Regions from separate parts of the Homo sapiens genome. Here region 1 is linked to region 2. Evidence: promoter capture Hi-C in human tissues and cell types (Jung and others, 2019). All regions are on one chromosome and are shown on one strand. Each heading gives the region's core, a stretch centred on a gene start or on the middle of the fragment in contact. The rest is flanking DNA. Distances are from core to core; before and after follow the strand shown.

Region 1 (5,478 bases), core at 252-2,751, 360 kb after region 2:
CACTCTTCTGCTTTTATTTTTCTTTCCAGTCTTGATCCAAAAGGGAAGAATGCATGAGGAGAAGCAGTCTTTACATGTACAATTTTGTATTTTACTTTTAAAATTTAATGTTATTTTATAAATATTACATGTAGTCATTATGGCTATTTTTGGTGAGCTTACATTGTTGTACTACAACTTGTTTGCTTGCTTATTTATTTATTTAAAGAGACAGGGTCTCACTATGTTGCACAGGCTAGTCTTGAATTCCTGGCCTCAAGTGATCCTTCTGCCTACCAATATGCTGGGATTATAGGTGTGGGCCACTGCACCAGGCCCACAGCTAATTTATTGTTGAATACTTAGTTTGCAGTTTGCTTTCAACTTTTTTTTTTTTTTCTGAGACACAGTCTTGCTCTGTCGCCCAGGCTGGAGTGCAGTGGTGCGATCTTGGCTCACTGTAACCTCCGCCTCCTGGGTTCAAGTGATTCTGCTACCTCAGCCTCCCGAGTAGCTGGGATTATAGGCGCCTGGCCACTACGCCTGGCTGATTTTTGTATTTTTAGTAGAGACAGGTTTTCACCATGTTGTCCAGGCTGGTCTTGAACTCCTGACCGCAAGCAATCCGCCCGCCTCAGCCTCCCAAAGTGCTGAGATTACAGGCCTACTTTCAACTTTTTTAATTCTTTTTTTTTTAATTTTAATGTTTAAAAATAGAGATTGGGTCTTGGCATGTTGCTCAGGCTGGTCTTGAACTCCTCAAGTGACCCTCCCACCTCAGCCTCCTAAAGTGCTGGGGTTACAAGCATGAGCCACTGCATCCAGCCTCGACTTTTTTTTATTTTTACAAGCACTTTGAATGTAGATTTTTTTTTTTTTTTTTTTTTTGGAGACTGGATCTTGCTCTGTTGCCCAGGCTAGAGTGCAGTGGCACAATCATGGCTCACTGCAGCCTTGACCTCCTGGGCTCAGGTGATCCTCCCACCTAGGTCAGCCTCCTGAATAGCTAGGACCACAGGCATGTGCTACCACACTTGGCTTTTTTAAGTTTTTGTAGAGATGGGCTGTCACATGTTTTCCAGGCTGGTCTTTAACTCCTAGACTCAAGCTATCCTCCTGCCTCACCTCCCAAAGTGCTGGGATTGCAGGAATCAGCCATCATACCTGGCTGTGACTTTTGATACGTATGTAGTTTCTGAGGCCCTTCCAAAAGAATTACGCTAACCAGGAATGAATGAACTTGGCTTTTCTTAAAGATATGTTTTAATAAGTTAAAGCTTTAAATAAAGCTTTAGTATAACTTAATATCAGTATAGTTCTTAGTATTTATAAAAGCACTTCATATACTATCTCACTTGATTTCACAACAACAGTCTGTGGTATGGAGAGACTACATAAGTTGTGAAAAATACAAAATTTTTACAAGTAAGACTACCACCTGTGATTATCAGTGGTTACCAATCAAACTTCCTCATTTCAGTTAGTTCTGAAAGGTCCTTTCTCTGAGTTGATGTCATCTTCTCTTAATGTACTGAGAGTGTGGTGAGATATATACTAAGAGATTAATAATTGTTTTGGTTGTTGGTCTGTCTTACCAGCTAGTTAAATATCAAGCATTTGTTTCCTGCATTGGCTGCATTCCAGTGAAACTAAGCTTGTGTTGTAAGTTAGAGATGCTAGATAATAACATGATCAAACTGATCACGTCTGCAGGGTTGTAACATCCATGTTAGTAGTATTTCTTAAGATGCTCAATTTCTGCTCTGAGAGATGCTCTGTGCAGCCTGTATTGAGTGTGTAAGCAGTTACCTAATATTTTATTCCTTTTGAGTACAGAGTAGTTGCTGGAGAGCCCTTTTACTGTTGAGATCATCAGTAAACCTCATTGATAAATCCCTATTCAAATATTAGTGGCGGTATGGTCAAACAAGTCCAGGCAATAATTGTCTTGCCTCTGCAGTTCCTGAAAAGCCGTAATCATGGTTCTTGTAGTGTTGTTTTGTTGGGGTAGTTAATGTAATGAGGTTTGTACTGACATGGCCTAGGTGATGCCATGATCACTGTGTCTGATAGTTTGACATAGGAGCATTTCATTGACAAATCATTAGTATTGTGATGTCTATTGGCTGCTACTTTGCTCTTTTAAAGAAGGATAGTAGCTGATTTTTTGTTTACTGTTTCAGCATTGTATTATGTCATTACATGTGTTATCTCTTTCATTGTACACAATAGGTCATTTTATAGGTGAGAAAAAGCAGAAGAGGATAAAATTCACACAGCTGGGATTTAAAACTAGTTTAAAATAAAGTGATTTCAGAGCATTCATGGGTCTTTATCACTGTTCTTAAAATAAGAAGCTTAGAGTTTCTTGATATTCTCCACTTTTTATTGTCTTAATCCATGTTTTAAGGGTTCTTGGTGTAGGGGTTTATGACATGATTGATTGTTAAGTGTTAAGTGTGGTTTTGCGTATTGTTCTTTTTTGTTAGATGGAAAGGAAAAAAGGTGTTTCCAGACAAATTTAAAAGAAGTGTCTCAAGTGGCTGACATTGCTTGTAAACCAGTGCTTGACTTCTATTTTGTTTTCCAGAAGCCTCATAGATAAGCTTACTGAATTTTTTTTTTTTTTTTTTTTTTACTTTTCATAAGTTTTTTTATTTTATAAACTTACGATTCAGGGTGGGATAAACAGTGTACGTGTGTGTGTTTCTCCCAGAGATTTGAGAGCACACACTATTGGTGGGGCAGTTAGGAATTCCACTTAATGTTTCATTACAAGAAAGAGTACAAGGTCTATTTATTTTATTGCTGGGGATGATAGGACTCCCCAAGTCATGGTTCTCAGTTTGTAGATCTTGAAATGGACTGTTATTACTAATTCAGATGACTGGGTTGCGATATTGACCCCACACTAACCAGAACAACAAGAGGCTAATGTATGAAAACCAAAATGCAGTCTGCTGATTTTTTTTTTTTAAGGAAAAAAAACAACTCTTAGATGGACAAGGATGGTTGTGTTTGGTGATTGGCATGGTTGGCTATAGGAGGAAGCCAGTTCTTTAAGAAGGTGGCTTGGTAAGCAGAGTTGGAGCCAGGGAGATTACTTGGGTGTTTTTAGTGTCCAGTGTAATTAAGCTACTATCTAACCAGATGCATTAATTGCTTTGATAAGAATAGGCTTCTTTGTGCATCATATGCCCTGCCCTTAAATGTGTCACCTGGATAATACTGGCTACATCTGATTCCTTGGGTCTCTTTTGCTTTTGTTGGACCAATTCCTAATTCCTGTTATCTTCTTTTGGAATTGTCACATCATTTAATCCTCTTACTGCTAAGTTATTCTTTAAAACAAACTCTACATCTCTCTTGTGATCTGTTACTTTTCGCCTTGTCAAAAAAACTAGTCTTTATTTCCAGATTCTTGATGGGGTGGATAGGAACTATCTTTTCATAGGTTGGATGCATTTACATTTTTGGTTATTGTGTGTTAAGTGAAGATTTGGCAACTGCTGGTATTTATGCCAGTGGGTTGGCAAACTAGGATATTTTACCCAACGCTGTGGATGATGTTACCTCCAGAGAGCTTACTGTTGAATTTGAAATTGTACTTGGATAACACATTATCATTTGGTTTTATAATTCAGTAGTTTCTAACTCCTTTTAATATGATCAGATTTGAACAGTTAGGTATCTTTTAGCTGACTGTTGAATATAAGTGATTGCTACTAATTCTCAGTAAGCTCAACATGTCTAAATTGATTTGATTTTGCCGAGTTAAAAAAGCCAGTCTTTTACTTTTTTTCAATTGAAAAGGATTTTAGTTTCATCACTTACATTTAAATATTAGAAATGGAACAAGAAGTGTTTCTTGAAAACAGACTCCTAAAGAAGTGTTTCAAATATACAAAAATACTTCCACATATTCACAACAGTGTTATTGCTGCTTAACAAATCACCCTAAAATTTAGTGGCTTAAAACAGCACAGTGTGTGTGTGTGTGTGTGTGTGTGTGTGTGTGTGTGTGTATTTTAAGAGATAGGGTCTCACTCTGTTGCCCAGGCAGGAGTGCAGTAGTGTAATCGTAGCTCACTGCAGCTTCAAACCTCTGGGCTCAAGGAGTCTTCCCACCTCAGCCTCCTGAGTAGCTGGGACTGCAGGGGTGTGCCACCACTCCGGACTGATTTTTAAAAAGTCTTTTGTAAAGCTAGAGTCTCGCTATGTTGGTTGCTAAGTCTGATCTTAGACTCCTGGCCTCACCCTTAGAAAGCACTGGGATTACAGGTGTAAGCCACCACGCCCTGCCTAAAACAAGACAGTTGTTTAAGCCTCATAGTTGCTATAGGTTAGGAACCTAGGCATGACTTTCCTGAGTCATCTGCTTCAGGGTCCTTCACAAGCTGCAGTCATGATTTCAACTTTGGCTGCATTCATCTCAAAGCTTGCTTGGAGAAAGGTCTGTCTCAAACTTGCTTGGAGAAAGGTCTGTTTCCAAACTCACTCATGTGGTATCAACCATCAGAATCCATTCTTTGCTGGTTGTTGGACGGAGGATCTCAGTTCTTAATTGTGTGTAAATGACCCAGGGCAGAGGCAGAGTTCAGTGGGAAGCTGCGGAGCAACAGCTTTGTATATGTAGCTGTTGTCCAGAGATGTCTCTCTCTTGGCTTCATGTGGCGTCTGTATAGGGCAGCTCACAACATAGCAGCAGTCATCATCAGAGTAAGCAATCAGGACAATAGATAGAAGAGGACAAGCAAGATGGAAATCACAGCTTTTGTAACATCTTGAAAGGAACATCCCATGACTTGTCTTATGTTATTTCTTAGAGGCATGTCATAGGTCTAGCCCACAGTCAGGGGAAGGGGATTACTCAGGGTATGAGTACTTGTAAGTGAAGATCATTAAGAGTCATTTCAGATGCTGCTAACCACAGCAGTTGAGTATAGACGCATATGTTTTGGAGGAAAGGGAGAAAGACTGAGTAAGATTCAGAGACTTTTAAGAGCTTTGCTAATTTTGCTTCTGTCTTTGCCCAAGCACCTTGGTTCAGTCTTTTGCTTTCTTTTTTTTTTGCCATAGTGGCAAAAACCACACTTTTGCACCAACCTAATAGCACTTTGCTTCATGTTTGCTGTATTGTTGTTTCCTTTTGAGAGAATTTACCCTGAAAATAGCCTCGCTTATGTGTTCACCTGCTTCTCCTGGCTTTGCACATTATGACAGCCTGGTATACTATCATGAAAGGTGACAGGATCCCAGAACTGATTTTTGAAGCCTTGAGCTGAAAGGCTGCTGCTTTCTGTAAGCAATTTTACAAATTATGGATAAGACTATATTTACATATGGAGGCTGGTACTTTTGGAAACTGTTCCTTGAGGTGTTTTTTTTTGTTTCTGTTTTTGTTTTTTTTTTTTTTTTTTTTGAGACAGAGTCTTGCTCTCTTGCCCAGGCTGGAGTACAGTGGCGTGATCTTGGCTCATTGCAACCTCTGCGTCCCTG
Region 2 (5,242 bases), core at 306-2,805:
CTTTGAGAAGTCTACATTGGGCCCTCAGGTCAGGACAGGACAGGACTCCCTTTAGAGGCACCACGCTAGTTTTATGTCTGGCTGCCCAGAGGTGAATGTGTGTCTTGTTCCCTGTTGTCTCTCTCCAAAGCAGGGCCTGGCACAAAGTAGGTGCTTTATTAACTGCTGAATTAATGAGTGAGCTCCTCAGAGCTTCAACTTGTTCACCTTTTTAAAAAGAGAAAATAATACAGTAACACCTACTTCATGGATTTTGCTTTAAAAGTCCAATGAGGCCAGGTGTGGTGGCGTGTGCCTATAGTCCCAGCTGCTGGGGAGGCTAAGGTAGGAGGATCCCCTGAGCCCCGGAGTTTGAGGCTGCAGTGAGCTATGATGGCGTCACAGTACTCCAGCCTGGGAGACACAGCGAGAGACTTTGTCTCTAAAAAATAATAATAAAATAAAAAGTTCAATGAAACAATACACCCAAAGCCCTCAGCATGCAATAAATAGCAAGACAAGGCAGGTCTTATTTTTACTGAAAGTGCTTAGTAAACTATACAGTGACAAACCACCGCACAACAGGCTCTCGAAAGGAGGCAGCAAATTACCCAAAAGTGCAGGCGGCTTGCTAGTGTGCACAGGCCAAAGAAAGGGCGGCAGGTGGGGAAGGCAGCCATGGGCCTTGAAGAGCTGACCGAATTGGCAGAATTTCTGCAGGAGGGGAGCTGGGAACGACCTGAGCTAAAGCTCGGAGCTGTGCGAAGAAACCGGAAAAGCCCAGAGCACTTGCAGGGGCGGGTGGGGAGCTAGATGGTGGGGTGGGGTGGGGACGGAGGAGGGCCAGCAGGAGACATTCCGCAGGGAGGGGCAAGCACGTGTGAGGCGGGCGGGGCGCGAAGGGTCAGGCTTTTGCTCAAAACAGGCAGAGGACAAGGTCAGCTCAGCCGCAGACCGAGCCGCTGGTGACTGTCTCCGCCACCAGGCAGTGAGAGTGAAGGGAGAGCGCGAGCTCTGAAGCCCGCTAGACTAAGCTTGCAATCTGAGCTCCATTCACCCCCTCCTATTTCTTGAGACCTTGTCAGTTCCCCTGTGAGCCTCGGACTCCTCACTTGTAAAACGAGGACAGATGCCCGTGCCAGAAGTCAACCAGAGCTTTCCCCGGCGTGGGCACCAGCCCAAGGGCGTTTTGCTTTTCTAGTCTCATCTCTGCTCTGACGCTAAGCTCAAAGAGGGACTGGGGGACGGGAAGATATCCACCATGGCATGCGCCCTAGCTCTCGGGCTGGTGTTGGCTGCTTCCTTCTCAGATTCCAGAGTGCCTAGAGGCCAGGAAAGGGAGAAGGTCCTACCAGCCTGGGGTAGGGACTCGGGGGCCAGGCACTGGCGCTGACGCAGGCTAGCAGGGCGCCACTGGCTGGTCCCCACCCACCTCGGTGGGTTGGGGGATGGGCGCACCAGCCCCTCCTGGGTGAGCCCTAGCCTGGGGCTTCCTATTTCGGGAGCCGGGGGCGTGGGCCACGTCTCCTCATGTGATGCGAGGGCTATTTAAAGCGGCAGCCCGGGCAGGGAGCCGCCGTCGGAGCCCTTGCACGCCTGCTCTCTTGTAGCTTCTCTCAGCCTAGCCCAGCATCACTATGGTGGACGCTTTCCTGGGCACCTGGAAGCTAGTGGACAGCAAGAATTTCGATGACTACATGAAGTCACTCGGTGAGCAAGCCGCGGGGCTCAGGATGTTGGCTTGGGGACTGGCTGGTGGCGTGCCTAGCCCCACGCAGCACTCCTGCCGCATCCCTCCTGGTTAAGACTGGGGAATAGGGGAGCGCGGAGATGGCAGCCTGGCCTAGAGCAGGTGGGGCCTGTTCAGAGGGGGCTTTGGTGGTCCAAATCTGGTTAGAGACCACGGTAGGGAGGTGGTGGAAGGAGGCAGCTGTGTGGGAGGCTCTTTCCAGGAAGAGGGATATGTGATTTGGAGGTAGGAGGAGGGTTTGGATAAAGAACACTGATCACAGGAAAGGGAGTGTAGCCAGGGGAGAAAAAGAACAGGGGCATGGGTAGTTTAGAAATTGGAGGAGACTGAACCCAGAAAGGGAATGGGGCAGCCAGGGAGTGTACAATGATGTAAACAAGTAGGAAATACCTAGGAGGAAAAAGATTAGTGGGGAAAAAACTGTGGATCAGTGAATCAGATATGAGAAGGACGTAAGACAGGAACCTGCAGTAAGCAGCAATCCCCATCTCTGCTTGGTTAGGGAAGAGAATTCTTGCTGGAGAATGCCCTTTCTCACCAGCCAGTCTGACCTTGTCCTGCAGTCTATGTATCCAGGCCTTCATCACTGTCTGTGAGCCTCGTGGTAGGGTGGGGCAAGAGGCCCATGATCAGCTGGGCCTTTCCTGCAACCCAAGGCTCACCTATCTGTGCGAGGGGTAGGCAGAGAAAGCCATTGGACTTCTGATGTGCAGTAGAGGGTCCCAAGGCAAGGTCAAGACCTGGGAGGGAGGATCACTGGTTTAGGAGGATGTGGAGAACTGCTGTGGTGTTGGGATGGAGAAGAATCAGGATTCAAAGAATCTCACAGGTGAGGAACTTGGAGATTCCCATACCATCTAGTTCAACAGGGAAACTGAAACCAGGAGAGTAGAAATGTATTATAACAATTCCACAGCAGAGCCAATATGAAAATCTAAGGTTTCTAGATCTGTAACCCAGAGCTCTTCCCACTACCCTACAGGCCCTGCGAGTGGGAAGAAAAGTAGAAACTGCTTAGCTAATGATTGACCTCAGCCCTTCTTCTACTGCTTTGGGCTTAGATGGAGAGGTCAAAGCTCTCAACGGCCTCTACCCTATCTTGGGCGCTATGCCCAGTAATTCTAGGCAGGCAGTCATTCTTAGAGGAGCAGCCCCCAGCCCCCACGAACACAGCCCAGCAGCTATTGGGAAGTTGGAATGCCCAGATTTAGTTCCTCCTTCCAAAGCTGGGCCAGAGCTGAGTCTTGAATTGAGCTGCAACAACTTTACCATTCTTGTTCCCTTATTCTGCCCCGAGTTGGGTCAGCGGGCTGGTCTCCCTGAAGTCCTGTTATCTTTCAGCAGCTTATGTTAAGGCAGCCAGCATTCTCATCGTAGGAATGGAAAGCCTGGGAAAATACCCTCCTCAGCTCTCAGTAAGTAGTGCTGGCTTCATTTCTAAGTAGAACCCAGATCTCCCTGAGTCTCCTAAATTCTGTCAGCTCAATATTCTTAGTTTCTCTTGGTTCAGACCCTCACTCATCCCGCAGTGGTTTCCTTTTCAAACACTCCATACCTCTGGGTAGATCCTAAGTGAACAGAGCTCCCAGTGCCGTGACAAGGTCCTGCTCTGTGCAAGGGAGTGTGATTGGCCTGACTCATCCTGATACCAAGGGGCAATGCCAAGTTCCTCACTGGCCAAGCAAGGGTGGGCTGACAGCATAACAGCAGAGGCAGCCCCTGCCCCTCCTGCTGTAGACCTAGGGCTCTCAAGGGGCAAAGAGGTCCCGTCTAGTACCAGTGACCACAGGCACAACTGCTGGCCTGGATTGAGTATGTGCTGGACAGAATCGCCCAGTGAAAATAGTCAACAGTTTTGGAGCCGAGGTTCAAATCTATGTCAGTAGTTTATTCTCTTTGAATTTCGACAAGACACTTCGCACTCTTCATTGTAAACTGGGGATAATCTACGCTTCGAGGCTGTTACAAGCATTAAGTAAAACAACCCATGTAGGGCATGTGCAGAGTACCTAGCTTCCAGCAAGCACTATGTAGCCAGGTACATTTGGAGACTTTACACACACCACCTCACTACACTGGGCTGCCTCCTGCCTCACCTTTGCCTTGGAAGACAGTTCAATGTTAAGCTGCTGGGGGGAGAGGGGGCAGTCATGATTAGTTCTTTGTTCTTTACTTGGTTGCAGGACACTTAGGACTTTGCCCAGTACCCAAGGAAGCCATGCTTGGGTCAGGAAGAGAGTCTCTGTAAAGCCTTAGACTGGGAGTCAGGAGACGGGTTTGAGTCTAACTCATTGTTGCTACCGCTTTAGGCTCCTCCTGAATCTGCACAATAGGACAAATACTTCCTTTGTACCTAACTCCTAGATCATAGATAACAGGCTTTGAAAATGATGGGTTGCCATGTATAAGGGACAAGAGCACTAACACTTCTTAGTTTCAGGGTAAAAACTTCCAAAGTTGGAAAACTCCTATGCCTAAGGCTTTGGAAGGGAAAGTCTATGTTTCTCTTCTTTCCTCAGCCTTATTCCTAAGGCTTTGAGAGCTTTTCAGGTGCCCTGGAAGGCAGCCTTATGCTCCAGCCTTGGGAGGTAGTATAGCTGAGCACTTAAGCAAGCTCTGGACTCAGACAATTCTGGGCTTCAATCTCAGATTTGTGACCCTGGGCTTTACCTCTGTTTTTGTATCTGTAACGTGGAAACAGTCTTCAGAAGAACAGGAAGAACTAAATGAGATAACATGTACAGTTCTTACTACACAAAAAGCTCATAGTACTTAATAGTAGCTTTTTTTTTTTTTTTGAGGTGGAATCTCACTCTGTTGGCTAGGCTGGAGTGCAGTGGCACAATCTCGACTCACTGCAACCTCCACCTCCTAGGTTCAAGCAATTCTCAGCCTCAGCCTCCTGAGTAGCTGGGATTACAGGCACATACCACCACATCTGGCTAATTTTTTGTATTTTTAGTAGAGACGGGTTTCACCATATTGGCCAGGCTGGTCTTAAACTCCTGGCCTCATGTGATCCGCCTGCCTTGGCCTCCCAAAGTGTGATTACAGGCGTGAGCCACCACACTTGGCCCAATAGTAGCTTATTCTAATCCCAGCTCTGCCACTGACTTGCTATGGCACTGCTGTTCCTTAAGTATCTCTCATCTAATGGGATCAGTTATCTGTGTTCACCAAACAGAACTAAGCGCAAGACTGAATTTTAAAATTCCCATGCAAAGGCTTTGAAAGATACAGTCCTCCACTTCCCCATACCCAGGCCTGAGAGTTATTCATTGAGTTTCTTGTACACTGCTTCTCTACCCCAGCTCATATACTCATAACCTTCCCCCTACCCTCAGGTGTGGGTTTTGCTACCAGGCAGGTGGCCAGCATGACCAAGCCTACCACAATCATCGAAAAGAATGGGGACATTCTCACCCTAAAAACACACAGCACCTTCAAGAACACAGAGATCAGCTTTAAGTTGGGGGTGGAGTTCGATGAGACAACAGCAGATGACAGGAAGGT

What was found. The method cuts DNA at HindIII sites, captures the fragments that hold promoters and counts their contacts. A contact is called where the count stands out against the background at its distance.
Region 1: a fragment that was not itself captured here is called in contact with the fragment with the promoter of FABP3 in region 2 in 1 of the 25 tissues and cell types used here (mesendoderm cells).

Annotation. Positions count from the first base shown.
Region 1 is chr1:31,009,691-31,015,168 of GRCh38, reverse strand. All of the region lies in intron 3 of PUM1 (pumilio RNA binding family member 1), which reads left to right. Among named protein-coding and RNA genes, the nearest start is that of SNORD103C, 44 kb to the right of the region's middle. RefSeq lists an enhancer at 5,071-5,200. The HindIII fragment of the contact is 4,000 bases long and covers 1-3,501 here.
Region 2 is chr1:31,369,389-31,374,630 of GRCh38, reverse strand. It overlaps FABP3 (fatty acid binding protein 3), which reads left to right and starts at 1,555. Exons shown (of 4, transcript NM_004102.5): 1 at 1,555-1,689; 2 at 5,074-5,242. The coding sequence starts at 1,617. LOC124903892 (a long non-coding RNA gene) reads right to left here and starts at 332. Exons shown (of 2, transcript XR_007065573.1): 1 at 244-332. RefSeq lists a silencer at 1,075-1,369. The HindIII fragment of the contact is 11,361 bases long and covers 1-4,465 here.